Linked DNA regions of Homo sapiens: all the other regions are linked to region 2. The links are contacts of gene promoters, found by promoter capture Hi-C in blood cells and fetal thymus (Javierre and others, 2016). All regions are on one chromosome and are shown on one strand. The core of a region is centred on a gene start or on the middle of the fragment in contact, and the rest is flanking DNA. Distances in the headings are between cores, read along the strand shown.

Region 1 (4,596 bases), core at 412-2,911, 310 kb before region 2:
CAAACTCCTGGGCTCCTCCCACCCCAGCCTCTTGAGTAGCTGGGACTACAGGTGCATGCTACCACACCCAGCTAATTTTTAAATTTTTTGTAGGAGTCTTGCCATCTTTCTCAGACTAGTTTCGAACTCCTGGGCTCAAGTGATCCTCCTACCTTGGCCTTCCAAACAGCTAGGATTACAGGTGTGAGCCACTGCACCTGGCCTATAGTTGATTCTTATTTAGTGTTTTGCTCCTAAAAGTAATGTTCAATAAACATATACACACAAGTCCTCACTTAGTACATGACCTGAACATTTACCCACATGCTTCATTAAAGTGTTACAAATTAAGTAAGAAGAGTGGTATATAGATGTATTTTCTTGTAATGGCATATCATAAAGTGGGTCAATTAATTATATTAGCTCTACACGTCTTAAATCATAACTTTATTGCTTTTGGTAATTTAATAAGATGTCCTCTATAATTTATTTCTCAGTGGTTTTCTTTTTTTAATATCCTTGAAAAAGCATGCTAACACTTTTATTTCAATTGAAAAAGTAGGTCAGACTTTTCCTGACGAAAAATGTCTAATTTGGTTCACTGGTTTGACAAGGAGGATTAGGGTATATGGAGGACATCTGCCATAAATAGAATGAACTACATCTTCAAGGATTCAATGAAAACACATTTAAAATAATAGTATAATAAAAGCATTTTATCAAAAATATTAAATTGGCCCCAAAAAGCAATGAAATTAACAACATTTTAATGTTCTCAACCCCCTCAAACTATATTAGATTAAATAAGGTGACAGAGAATCAGGGATAAACGACAGTCCCTTGATAAACTGAGACAAGGACAGCCTCTTAGTAAATGTTCCAGAAATTGAGACTGACTGGATAACACATCCTTTGGCAAGTCAAGTAGTTTCTAATCCTTTGCTTTCAAAACACTTGAATGAAAAACCGAGTTGATAGCTGATAAAGCATTAAACTAATTTTTACAGTTTTAAAATTTCAGATCATCATCGGATTTAGGAACTATTACTCAGAAGAGTTCAGAACACAATTGAGGGCCATTGCTATACTATACCTCCTTATCTACATATTCATGCAAACAAAGTTTCCTAACATGGTCTATAAAAATGAAGAGAAAAATATACTTGAGACTGAAGCCTGCCTCACTGGAGCTGAGTCCTCCTGTTCCTTGAGTGTGGGAACCAATCGGCTGGAAAAACAGCCCCACTCTTCTCATTAACGAGGCAGTTTCAATCAAATGTGTTTATGTGTTAATAGTTATCTATCAGTTTGTAACATACATATGTTTTCTGAAAAACTGAAGTGATACTACTTGTGAAAATAACTCAGGAGATATTAAAAGCTTTTGATCACAAAATAAATTTTAAATTTTTGACCCCATTTAAAGCTTTTTGTTGTAGAGAAGTAGGGCGAGGTAAGCACAAAAGACTTCCAGGAGGCAAAGTAGATGGCACTGGGGTCAAATTTTGTGACAGAAGCCGAATCACGTCCAGGAACGACCAAAACTTCCAAAGGAGCAAAAGCTAGTCCTTTTGCGGGGGCGCAGGCAGAAGCGGCGGCAGAAGCGGCGGCAGAAGCGGCAGGCGGAAGCGGCAGGCGGAAGCGGCAGGCGGAAGCGGAAGGCGTCCATCTTTACCGTGTTCAGACCCGGATGAGTCCTAGTCCCCGCCACACACAGGTCGTGGGTTCTCCTTTGAGAGTGACCACTGGTTCCTAGAGCTTTTCCTAAACTGGAGACGGATCCTGCCCTGGGGGTCTCAGTCACCGCGAGGACTCGAGGGTAACTGCCAGAGGTCCCAGGTGGCCCGAGGTGATGCCGGGCGCAGGGAGGGGCTGGGGCGGAGAGAGGGCTGGGGTTTGGGGCCGTGTCGGGGATGAGTGGTGAGGGGTGCCCAGAAGGGGGAGGCAGAGGTTGGTGTGGCCACGGTGGAAGGAGCCACAAACGTGGACATGTAAAGGAGGACCAAAAGGTTTTTTTTTGTAAAGATCAATATTTAGGACAGAAATCACAACCTTTCTATAAAACAAAACAACTGTATAATTTAAAAATTGAATTGTGAGCTAAACGCATATGAGGGGTTACGGGTTTTCAAAATTCAGAGATTAGGAGCAAAACCAAAAACTTGTAGCCCGCTTCCCTGTGAGCCTCTTCTCCAGCCCAGCCCGGCTGCAGGACTCTGGGGCTGCCTTGAGGACGGGGTGCTATTTCTCAGGTTTCGTCTGCAAAGGGGTAAGTCACCCCAAACCAGAGCACTCAGTGGTGGACTTACAGCCAATCCTGAGCTTCTCAAGACACTAGAGTGCACCCCAGCCTGCCTGCCCCCGAGGCCTGGCACCAGCCAGTGCGGCAAACCAGCAGGCAGGGCACTGAATGTCGTCTGAGCTGCAGGGCCCTTCCTGGGGCTGGGGGTCCAGGCCAGAGCCTCTGTGCTGTGTGTGTGTCCTTACTGTCCACGCCCGAGCCTCATTTATATGGAGAACACATTTCTTCTCAGAAAAGCAAACCTCAAGCAGTTGAACTGGAGAATGAGGACAGAAGGGCTTATGCAGAGCCGGGATATTTTTTACACAAAATCAGAGGAGGGCGACCTTCAAACTATTATTTGTTTTTCTCCTTTGGCCTGGAACTAATCAGCTTAGCATGGATGCCTGGGTGTCCCGGTGAGATAGCGAACCCATCTCATTTGGGTGTTTACCTTTTATAAAAGAAAAAAAAATCCATTTCTTATGAGTACATTGTTATTTATTCTAGAACTTCCCTCATAAACCGTCAGTTCATGCTATGTAATCCTATAAAGTAGTTTATTTTTAAAAATCGTTGAAAGGATAAGCAGAAGATCGCCTCTTCCTGGCATGTGTCAAATTGCTTTATATGTAGCTATTCTAGAGCAAAAATGCTGACTGTCCGTTGAATATTGTCACTTGCCAAGCAGAGAGCTGCGCACCCCTTTCACCCATCTGTGGGTCAGTATGCAGTGTATTTGGGGATATGACACAGTTTCTTATCGCTTCCCATCACCTGTCCTGTGTGAATTGAGGCGGAAGTAATCTCTTGAGGATGACCTGTCTGTGTTTAAATTGAAGATGAATATTGCCATGGACAAATCTGATTTGATCATTGAAGGGACAAGCCTCTGTTTTAGAATTCATTGTGTTGTCACTCAGTTTTGCTGTGATTGCCTCCTTGGTGCCTCCTCTTTCTGCGACAAAACCGAGGGAAAAAATAGGTGGGGGGAACTGTGCTGCAGGTACTTTTAAGTGGATTCAATTTACCTCTGTTTAAGTAGTAGAGAAATATGTTTGGGCCCTGGAGAGAAAAATGCCCTGGATAATTTGCTTATAAACCAGGCGCATGCCTGGAGTGACCAGTGAGTGTGGCAGCAGCCAGGAGGGGCCACCCTGTTGTCCCTGCCTCAGGGCAGGCTCTCCCACCCCAGCTCCTTGGTGGTTCAGGTGACCTTGTGCATCCCTCATGTCAAGCCCTTGCCCAGGCAAGCAGGGGTGGGGCTGGAGCCCTGGGATTCACACAGGGCACGCCGTGCACCATGAGGTCAGTGACATCATAACAGAAGCCTGGCTTCTCAGACCCATCCAGCCCCAGGAATCCTGAAAGTGGGCAGACCTTCAGGGCACTGGGACAATTTGGAGGGAAGGGAGGGGCTATCTCAAGGAACCCTGCAGTGCATGTACCTCTCAGGGAGAAACGGGTGACAGTGGAAGCGCCCTGGTCTGGGGATCAAGGTACCTGGGCTTAAAGCTTTGCTCCCATATACCTCAGTCAGCCTCCTCCTCTGCAAAACAAAGACAGTAAAGCCTGGCCACCCACCCCTTGCTTGGTCTTCAGGGTGTCAAGATGGAACTCACACTTTGAGTCTTGGCTGGGATGGCGTTTGGGCTGGATAAAGGAAGTACAGTGAAAGTAGAAGTGGTAGTCAGACCGATGTGCAGCTGGGTTTGCTCTGCTGGGCAGTGAGAAGCAAGTGCTGAGTGACTGCCACCCAGAGGAACATGGCTGTCAGGCCCTGTGACCCAGCACCTCTCCACCCTGGATGTAAACTGCTGAGAATCAAGGGGTGGGGCTCCCAGGAATGAGGCCATGGCAGATGAGGAGGTCTGGAGTGTCTAGCCTAGTGCAAGCTATTTGTTTCCCAGACAAATAGCTCAGTGGAGCAGAATAGAGAGCCCAGAAGTAGACCCATATAAATATAGTCAACTGATGTTTGCCAAAAGTACAAAGGCAATAAAATGGACAAAAGATAGTGTTTTCAACAAATGGCGCTCGATGTTCACATGAAAAAATAAAAGCATGTAAACACAAATCATAAACCCTTCACAACAGCTAACTCTAAATAGATCACAGAAACTACAAACGACAAAATTTCTAGAAAGTGACATTAGAGAAAACCTAGATGGCTTGGGTTTGGTGATGACTTTTTAGGTACAACACCAAAGGCAACATCTATGAAGGAAACAATAGGCTGGACTTCATTAAAATTAAAAACTGCTCTGCAAAAGATAAAGCCAAGAGGCTGAAAAGACAGGTCATAGACTGGGAGAATATGTTTGCAAAAGACACAT
Region 2 (4,837 bases), core at 1,765-4,264:
CGGCTTGGGAGGGTGGCAGGGGGTCTGCAGAGGGTCTGGATTTGAGAAGTCTCCTCCAACCCTCCAGCAGGGGCTCAGAGCATCCCTCGATGTGGGGCCAGCTTTGGGGGTCCAGGGACCCCTAGGAAAATCTGCCCCAGGCTCTCAGCATTCAGTCTTCACGTATCAGAGACCACTCAGGCTGGAAGTGCTCCCTGAACCGCCCCCAACCTGACACACAGGCTTAGGAAAAAGGTGGCCTTCAGGGACCAGAGAGAGAGACCCTCCCCAGGCCACTTAGGCAAAGCCATCAGCATCATCTGGGGTCCCGTCTTGACACCTCTACACACTCATGTCTGTGACAAAGGAACATAGGTGATGGCAGGGAAGCCCTTAAGAGGCAGAGGCTGGTGGGCTTGCAATGGGGGCCGCAGGGAAGAGGGGGAAGGGTTAGGGGAACCTCGAGGTTTCCGGAGCTCCACGGCAGGGCACAGCTGGGAAGAAGATGGGACCAGCACCCTCCATTGGAGGCAGCCAGGACCCTAGAAGTTCTCAAAGGGCCAGGATGAAAACAGCCGGCCAGGCAGGAGGAAGCGCAGGCAGGGGCCACTGCCAGGCCGAGGCAGATCTGACGGTCGCCTGCCTCGGCCTCACCTTCCATGCCTCCTCAGGGCCTGTCAACAGCTGGGAAGATCAGTGCACAAAGGTTGGGCTCCATCACCAGGGACCCTGATGCCCAGAGAGGCCACGGGTAGAGCTGGACATACCTCAGACCGCACCCACTCCTCCCCACTGGGAGACCCATTTGGCCCTGGGACTCCCTGTCAAGTTCACTTTCCCACCTGTCAGCAGGTTTAGACAGGCGCACCGATCCCCAGACAACCAGAGCAACCAGATCGCCGCAGACAACGGGGAGCCATCAGGAGCTGAACTAAGCCCAGGGTCTGCGCCCACAGTCCATGGCCGCAGGAGTCAGATCCCCACCCACAGGACCCCCAGGGGCCCGGGAGCCCTGGGTACTTGGGCCCCCTGTTCTGAAAGGTGCCACCTCCAGAAGCGACCAGAACATTCCTTCCTTGGAGAGACAGCCAGAGTCTCCGCCAGCAAGGGGCTGCTGCTGGTCTTAACAGTCAGCCTCTGCTGCCAGCATACTCAACTTATGTGCCGTGAACGTAGCCCACTGACAGAGGCTTGGCCATCACGGCCCAGACCACCTCCAAGAGGAAAGATAGGGAACTTGGTCACCATCATAGAAACGCAGCCCCAAGCCAGGGGACGCCTAGACTCCAAGTGTCCAGACCCCAGCCCAGTCCCATACAGCTTGAGGCCTCTTCCCGGCATCTGAAGGAAGTCCCCGACCAGACAGGAGGGCCACGGGGAAGCAGAGAGAATCCCTGCCTTCAGGAGAAGGTTGTAACAGCCCCTGCAAATCCCCGGCCCCACTGTCCACAGTGACCAGCCCCACCCAGGCCCTGTCCTTCCAAGCACCAGAGAAGGCCAGAGACCCGCAATCAAAACACAAGCAAACGCCACCTATCATTCCGTGTTTAAACCAGCTCCTACTCTGGAAGGCTAACCAAGAATGTTCGTTATGTTTTTTAGAACGCCTGCTAGTTTAAAAAGAAGAAGAAGAAAGCATTGCACACCCTCCCACCCCTGTTCAGATGACCAAGTTCAGGGTTCCTAACAGCATAATTAGACCCTCCGGCTATCACTGCTGCAGGCCCAAACACCCGAGAAGCACTCTTTCTCATCTGTGTCCAGCAGAGATAACTGTACTATCTGGAATTATAAAAATCCACCAAAGCCCCTTCGGAAAGAAAGCAATTAGCAATTGCAACAAGCAGTGCACAGGTGGCACCCAGGCAAAGGCGGCCAGTGAGATGCAGCCTGGCTCCCAGGCCTGGACAGGGCAGGCAGGTGCACTGGGCCAGAGGCACCTCGGCTCTGCTGATTGAATCTGGGCTGTGCGGGGATCCTCGGGTCTCCGTAGGGGGAGGCCACCTCTTTACAGGGCGGCCAACAGGCGCCTCCAAGGACTTTATCCCACCTTCCCTCTGGATGCATTCTGGATTTCGGGGCCAGCTTAGTTGGCCTGTGTCCTGAGGCCAGGCAGGCCAGACTCCCCAGGACAGGAGTTTCCGATGGACAGGACCCTAGGGGGATGGCTTTCCTGCTGTAGCGGTGTTGGAAGGACCCACTCGGGAAAGGCTCCAGCGGCTGTCCAGGCTCTCTCTGAGACGCCTCGGGATTGCTCCGCTGGATCCGCACCCACAGCTGCTCCAAGGGGAAGTTGCACCTACAAAGCTTCTGGCACAGGAGACAATGGTCTGGAGATGTGCCAGGGGCCCGCCCCACGCGTGGCTGGCAGGGTTCACCCACCGGCTGGCCCGTCCCGAAGCAACACGTGCCTGGGCGCGAACGCCGGATCCACGCTTTCCTCCAGACCCGGGGGTGGGACTTGGCGCCCCAGGATGACGCGGAGGGCAGGCTGGGGGCCGGGACTCCCCACCCCATTCGCAGGCTGCGGCGGAAAGCGAGCGGCGGGAAACCCGCTGCACAGCAACGGTTCTGCCAGGCGCCCGGGCCACCGCGACCCCCGCGGAGACCCCGGCCCACGCCCCGCACCCTCCCCAGGGCCCCCCAGACCCCAGGCTGCAGACCGCAGACCCCGGCCACGCCCCGCACCCTCCCCAGGGCCCCCCAGACCCCAGGCTGCAGACCGCAGACCCCGGCCCACGCCCCGCACCCTCCCCAGGGCCCCGCGGACCCCAGGCTGCAGACCGCAGACCCCGGCCCACGCCCCGCACCCTCCCCAGGGCCCCGCGGACCCCAGCGCCAGCCCCCACACTCACCTCACAGGGCCCTGCAAACCTCGGCCCGCGCCCCGCACTCACCCCAGGGCCCCGAGACACCCCGCAGCCCCCGACACGCGGCCCCGTGGCCCCGTTCCCCACCGGTACCTGCGACTCGGCGGGGCGGCTGCCCTGGGGCTCCCGGACCCGGCCCCGCGCACGCGGACTCCGGGACTACAGCGCCCACAAGGCGGCGCGGCGGGCGCGCGGCTGCGGGGTGGGCGGGTCCGTCCCGCCGAACGCGTCCTGAGGGCGGGGCCTCGCGCGTGGCCGGGCGCTGCGGCAGGAGCGTCCCCACGGGGCACCCTCCCACCCACGGCCGTCTCCCAGCCCCGGCGCCGGCCTCTCCCCACCCGGTCACCGCCGGGGTCACGCGGCCCCTCGTGCTGCGGCCCTACCCCTGGGGCCGCCCCCTGACCCCGACCGCCCCTCGGGCCCCCACCCCCGCCGGCGTCAGCATCCTGGGGTGCCACTCGCGGAGGTGTCGGTCCCTCGGGCGGGCACCCTGCCATCCCTCTCCCCCGCGTTCTTCCCACCCCCGGTCCCCTCCTGACCCCCCCTCCTCGACGAGGCCTTGTGCGTTTTCCTTTTGGCACCCTGGAACACCTGCATTCCTGGCCGCAAGCTGGATCCGGGACGCGGGTCGGGCCCACGCGCCCTCAGGGGTGGCCCTGGGCCGCCTTCGTGGGGCTCCAACAGGGACACGCACAGCCTGCTCTTGGGGACCGCACGGCCCCGAACTCGGCGCCCCCGGGACCCCGCCGCCCGCCCTCCTGCCTGACCGTGACCCGTACGGGCTTGTACCAAGGAGCAAGCCGGATCCAGGACGTGGCCCGGGGCCACCAGTCCCCATCCCAGCAGGGACAGCCCGGGGGAGACCCGCGCAGGCCTCGCAGACGGCAGCGCAGTCACACTCAGGAAGGGGGGCCTGGGCCACTCTCCCAGGAAGGCGTGGGGCTGCGGCAGACAGCACCGCCGAAAGCCCAAGGCCTGTGCAGGACACGGGGAGAAGTGGGGGGCCTCAGGGTCACTTTCCCCTGGAGTTACCCAGGGCCTGGCTATGGGGAGGGAAGCCAAGCCGAGGGCTGTGGGGGCCCCAAGGCTAAGGAGGAGCCAGGAAGTCCACTGCACAGAACAGAAGGGGACGGCCACCGTGGTACCCACAGCTCAAGAGTGCGGGTCCCAGGCGAGGGGTGAGTCTGGGGCAGCAGCCCCTGGAATGTACCCCTTCCGGAGTGTAGACAGCACAATCCGCGACCTGCCTCCTGGTGTTGCGGGGGTGCTCTTGGTCTCCCGCCCACCAGCAGGGCAACCCCACCAGGAAGCCAACACAGGGCCCTTGCCCTAAATGGCCGCCTGCCCAAAGCTCTGGCCTGGGCCTTCTTTCCAGAGTCCTGAGTGTAGCAAGCCACACGAACAAATCTCAAAGGAACTTAAAAAGGATTTGTTGGCTGGAAATGGGGGATCTGGGGTAGCTTGCAGAATTTAAGGGAACACTACAGGATGGAGCGCCTCACCTGGAGGGACCCCCTGCTTTGTGGGAGCCCTGGCTCTCTCCCCTGTACTGGCCTTCTCCACGGGTGGGCAGAACCTGGCCCTGCTGGAAGACAGGAGGGGCAACGCGGAGGAGGAGGGGCCCTTCCTTCCCTCCAGGCAGAGAGGAGCCAGCCATGGGGCCAGCTCGCCAGGGCAGCCTGCTCCCTTTACACGCAGGACAGGCCAGGAAGCCGAGGGGAAGTGGGGATGAACAGCAGCGGGGCTCCTAGACCCCTTCCCACAGAAGGATGGCTCCCACCCCCTTCCCGCCTGGAGACAGCAAGGCAGGGAGCCACAGCCCCAAGGGGACCCCGCAGGACCCACAAAGACCAGTCCCTCACCTGTCTCTCCGGTCAGGTGTAGCCGAGCGAATCCGCCCCCGGCCGCGAGGGGCCTGCCCAAGCTGCCCTCGGGTCCCCCTGCGTGGCAGGAGTCCTGGGAGTTCCCCAGCCACACAAGGCCCAGGT
Region 3 (4,274 bases), core at 997-3,496, 470 kb before region 2:
AAAAAGGACAAGTTGAAACTTGCACAAGCAGCCTCCATTCTGGGGAGTTCCCTTGTATTCCCCACACCAACCCGCACCTCAGCGAAGGCCTGTGGAAGACTTCTGCAGTGACAGCCCCGATGAACCATGCTTGCCGTGCCCGTCCCCTGTGCGGTGCCTCACGTCCACTCAGGCCCCGGCCATCTCACCCTCCTGGGGAGATGGAGGGAAGCACCATGGGGATTTGCTTTTTCTTGCTGCCGACGGAGCCCAGCCACCACGGGAGGGAGGCCCGGCCAGCCTGCGGTGGGTGGGTGACATGTGGCCCGGATCTGCCCGGGGCGCCTGCCTGTAAGTGGGCCCAGCAGACACCCCATGGAGCCGAGGCAAGCCGTCCCAGCTGAACCGGCTTAAGCTGCAGGCCCACAGAGTCATGAGCAGTGAAGAGAGGTTTTCGCCCTCTGAGGTTTGGGGTGGCCTGTTACACAGAAATACACACAACGTCCTCAGGCACGTATCTCTTTAAGAATGTGTCCCGAGAAGGCGTCCCAGGAGTCTTGATTTTTATTTAGCCGTCCACGGTTGCCCCTTTGGGTGCTTCGCCTTCAGATGGGGTGAAGGGCTCACTTGTTAGCTGGCTGGCCCCAAAGACAGGCTTGTTTTCCACCAGGCAGTGACTGAAGCCGGCAGCCTGCTGCATACCGCGGGCCTTCCCCTGACCTGTCCGGGACTGCGGGCTGGCGGCTGACACCTGCGGAGTGCTTACCGCATACCAGGCTCCCAAACTTCCATCTGTGTTCGTCTTTTAAGTTTTGTTGTTTTCCAGAGTCGGAGTCTCAGTGTTGCCCGGGCCAGAGCGCAGCGGCCATTTATAGGCGCGGACCTCGGCCTCGCACACCACAGCTCCAGCTCTGAGACACAAGCGACCCGCACCCCCCCACCGCCCAGCCCCAGCCTCCAGACTGGCTGAGATCACAGTGTGCGCCACCCCATCCCTGGCTTGCGATGGTCTCTTACTCCCCACTTTACAAGGGAGGAAAGAGGCCGAGGGCAGAGTGGGCCGCCTGAGGTTTGGAGGCCAGGGCTAGTACAACCTCAATTTGACCCTGGAACCTGCCGCTTCCCCCACCCAGGTGCGGGACCCACCCGCTTGTCCACACCTGGCTCTGCCCACCGCCCCCGGCTGCTCCTCTGGGCTCAGGTCGCCGCGGTCAGGAGCTGCCAAGTTTGCCTATCAAACTTTATCTTCGTGCAGAGAACTGCAGCCTGGAGCTGGTTATTCCGGTCAGTGAAAACGTTGCATTTCTACATATGCTTATCATCATCTGTGTAAACATTTCTTGGTATAACTGTGGAACAGTCAGTAAATATAGATAAATCGAAGAGTAGGTCTATTGCATATGCTATAAAAAAATGCTTTTACTATCAACCTAAAACAAACAAACAAACAAAAAAAATCAAACAAAACCACCATCACCTAAACGTTGGTAACTGGAGCAGCTGCTAGTGTCAGTGCGGACTAAACAGGAGACGGCGGGAACCGTGTCCAGCCAGGGTCCTGGGCCGCGACCTGGTTCTCCCGGAGTCTACAGTGAGGATGACGGGCGGGGAGAGGGGGCCGGCGGGACCCGCGTGTCCCAGGCAACTCCGGGAGAGGGAGAAGCAGGGGTGGCTCGGCGGGGGCTCGGCGGGGGCTCGGCGGGGGCTCGGCGGGGGCTCGGCGGGGGCTCGGCGGGGGCTCGGCGGGGGCAGCGCCCGCTGCAGGGAGGAGCGCGGGGGCCCGGGAGCCTGGGCAGCACCGCGAGACGCCACCTCCGCAAAACGCAAACGCCAATCGCCGGGCGCCTGCGGTCCCAGCTACCAGGGAGGCTGAGGCGGCAGGATCGCGTGAGCTCGGAGGTCCACCGCGCTCCAGTCTGGGCGACAGTGAGACCCCGTCCCCAAAACGAAGGCGGGCAGAGTCTCCTCAGCCGCGCTCGGGCGGGCGGCGCCGCGACGCCAGGCCGGTCCCGCGCTCTCGCCCCACGCTCCGGAGCCGCCCAGCCGCGGTCTCTCAGCTCCGGCCGCGCTCCAGCCCCAACGGCCCCGCGCCCGTCCGCCGCAGGTGGTCGTGAGGGAGGTGCCACAGCTCCGGCTGCCCACGACAGACACGGGCGCCCCAGCGCGCGCACGTCCGGCGTCGCTGCGCCGCCCCCGCCCCCTCGGCGTGCGCGCGCCCGGCGGGCCGGCGGGGGCGGGGAGGGGGCGGAGCCGCCGGCGGCGGGGCTGAGGCGCTGAGGCGGCCGTGGCGGCGGCGGCGGCGGCGGCGGCAGCGGCGGCCAAGCGGCCAGGTTGGCGGCCGGGGCTCCGGGCCGCGCGAGGCCACGGCCACGCCGCGCCGCTGCGCACAACCAACGAGGCAGAGCGCCGCCCGGCGCGAGACTGCGGCCGAAGCGTGGGGCGCGCGTGCGGAGGACCAGGCGCGGCGCGGCTGCGGCTGAGGTGAGGGCGGCGCGGGGCCGCGGCGGCTCGGGCGGGCGCGGGCTCCGGACCCCGCGGTGGCGGCGTTTATGTAAGCGCCGGGCAGGGACTGGTGGTGGGGCCGGAGCTGCGGGCCGTCCCGGGAGCGGAGGGCGCCCGCGGAGAAGCGAGGGTGCCGCGGCACCGCCTCGCACCCACCCTCCTGGGTCGCCCGTCTGCTCCGGCGCTCGGCTCCCGGAGGAAGCTGCGCCCGGGCGGCCCCGCGTCCCCTCCCGAGGGCGCCGAGTCCGCGTGGGATGCGCCGCGCTGCGCCGCGGGGAGGGCAGGTGCGCCGGGACGAGGCTGCGCCCTGGGGACCGAGACTGCGTTTTGGGGAGGGGACGGTGTGCCCTGGAGATCGGAGGCTGCGCTGGGGACGAGGCTGCGCCCGGGGACCAGAGGCTGCCCCGGGTACAAGGTTGCGCCGGGGAACGGGAGGCTGCGTTGGCAACAAGGCTGCGCCTGGGGACGGTAGGCTATGTCCCTGGGGAGACGCTCCGCCCGGCATGGGACGCTGCGCCGGGGGACGGCAGGCTGCGCCCGGGATGAGGCTGGGCCCGGGCAGGGGAGGCTGCCTTGGGAGGGGACGCTGTGCCACGGGAGTGGAGACTGCGTTGGGGACGAGTCTGCGCCCTGGACGGTCCTGCGTGTCCTTCCGAGGGCGCAGTGTCCGCGCGGGATGCTCTGCGCCGCGGGCGGCCCGGGCCAGGGAAGTTCCTGCGGGTGCCGGGCGTCTGCAGCGATCGGGAGCAATCTGGGGCAGTTGGGGGCCCGAGGTGACTTTTGACGTGTTCACATCAGAAGGAAAATTATTGCGTGGTGGATGGGTGCGAGGGAAGGTGTCAGATTGGGCTGTGGACGCTGAAACGTGTTGGAGTCCCGATTTACACGCTGGAAAACCTAACCTAAAACGTGTTCCTGTCCAGGTTTCTATGTCGGAGATCTGCACCGTGGTGTTTAGTTCCCAGTTAATATTTTTGGTCAGCAGGTTTGGGCTGTTACTTCTGATACAGGCATTTTACTTCCTTCTTACTAACCATTATTGCATTCCGTTCTCGAAGTATAACGAAAAGTGGCATGATATCAAACTTGTTTCTTTAACGTTTAACTCCATAATTAAGATGATAGAACCGTAGTTTTTTTAATTGAGAATACAAATATGTATTTAATCCTCTTTGTTTCCTCTTAAATTTTGCCGTATGTTTTATTGCTTCGAAAGGTGCCACCCAGAGCTGCATTTTCCAAAACGCTAGGTTGTCTTAAGAGCAGTTGTTTCTAGGAGATAGAAAAGCTAATTGTCTTTTGATGACCATCTTTTCCTTGGGGTTGAGACTGCTGTATCCTTTTTGCCTGCTGAGGGTTTCCCAGAGGGGAAAGGGAGAAGGAAGAAAGGATAAAAGCTTGGCTGATACAGTTCCTTCTTGGATAAGAGAATTAACTGTCTCTCATTGCGCGGTTCCTCCGGAGGACAGGGTCCAGTATGCATGGACAGCCACAACGGGGGCTCGGTAAGTATTTGATGAGACAGGCTGAGCTGGGTGCCTATATCTTGCCTGTGGTGGAGAGGATGAACTCACACAGACTCTGAAAGGAATGCATTGTCTGTGAGTGATGCCCTGTTAGATGTCTGAGGGTTCCTAAGACTGGGTATATCCCACTACATCTACATCACATTTGAAGCTGTAGTTGGAAAGGAAAAAAGGAGGCCCTCCTGCAGGGACAGGGGCTTAAAAATAATCGATCCAGCTCTGAGAAATTGATGACACATGTGTCTCTGGTGTGACGTGCTCATGCAG

The links. The method cuts DNA at HindIII sites, captures the fragments that hold promoters and counts their contacts. A CHiCAGO score of 5 or more calls a contact.
Region 1: the fragment with the promoter of LINC00334 here is called in contact with the fragment with the promoter of SLC19A1 in region 2 in 2 of 17 cell types (M0 macrophages and endothelial precursors); the score reaches 7.6 in M0 macrophages.
Region 3: a contact is called between the fragment with the promoter of ADARB1 here and the fragment with the promoter of SLC19A1 in region 2, in 14 of 17 cell types (M0 macrophages, fetal thymus, total CD4 T cells and 11 more). The highest score is 20.7, in M0 macrophages.

The regions. Positions count from the first base shown.
Region 1 is chr21:45,232,679-45,237,274 of GRCh38, forward strand. LINC00334 (long intergenic non-protein coding RNA 334) reads left to right here and starts at 1,662. Exons shown (of 3, transcript NR_135279.1): 1 at 1,662-1,828. The HindIII fragment of the contact is 2,370 bases long and covers 1,404-3,773 here.
Region 2 is chr21:45,539,426-45,544,262 of GRCh38, forward strand. SLC19A1 (solute carrier family 19 member 1) reads right to left here and starts at 3,015. Exons shown (of 6, transcript NM_194255.4): 1 at 2,943-3,015. RefSeq lists silencers at 2,449-2,508, 2,859-3,168, 3,209-3,288 and an enhancer at 3,143-3,655. The HindIII fragment of the contact is 3,738 bases long and covers 2,285-4,837 here.
Region 3 is chr21:45,072,334-45,076,607 of GRCh38, forward strand. ADARB1 (adenosine deaminase RNA specific B1) reads left to right here and starts at 2,247. Exons shown (of 11, transcript NM_001112.4): 1 at 2,247-2,460. LOC105372836 (a long non-coding RNA gene) reads right to left here and starts at 1,408. Exons shown (of 5, transcript XR_937796.3): 1 at 1,140-1,408. It also overlaps the pseudogene SSR4P1. RefSeq lists silencers at 1,891-1,980, 2,001-2,200. The HindIII fragment of the contact is 4,896 bases long and covers 1-3,876 here.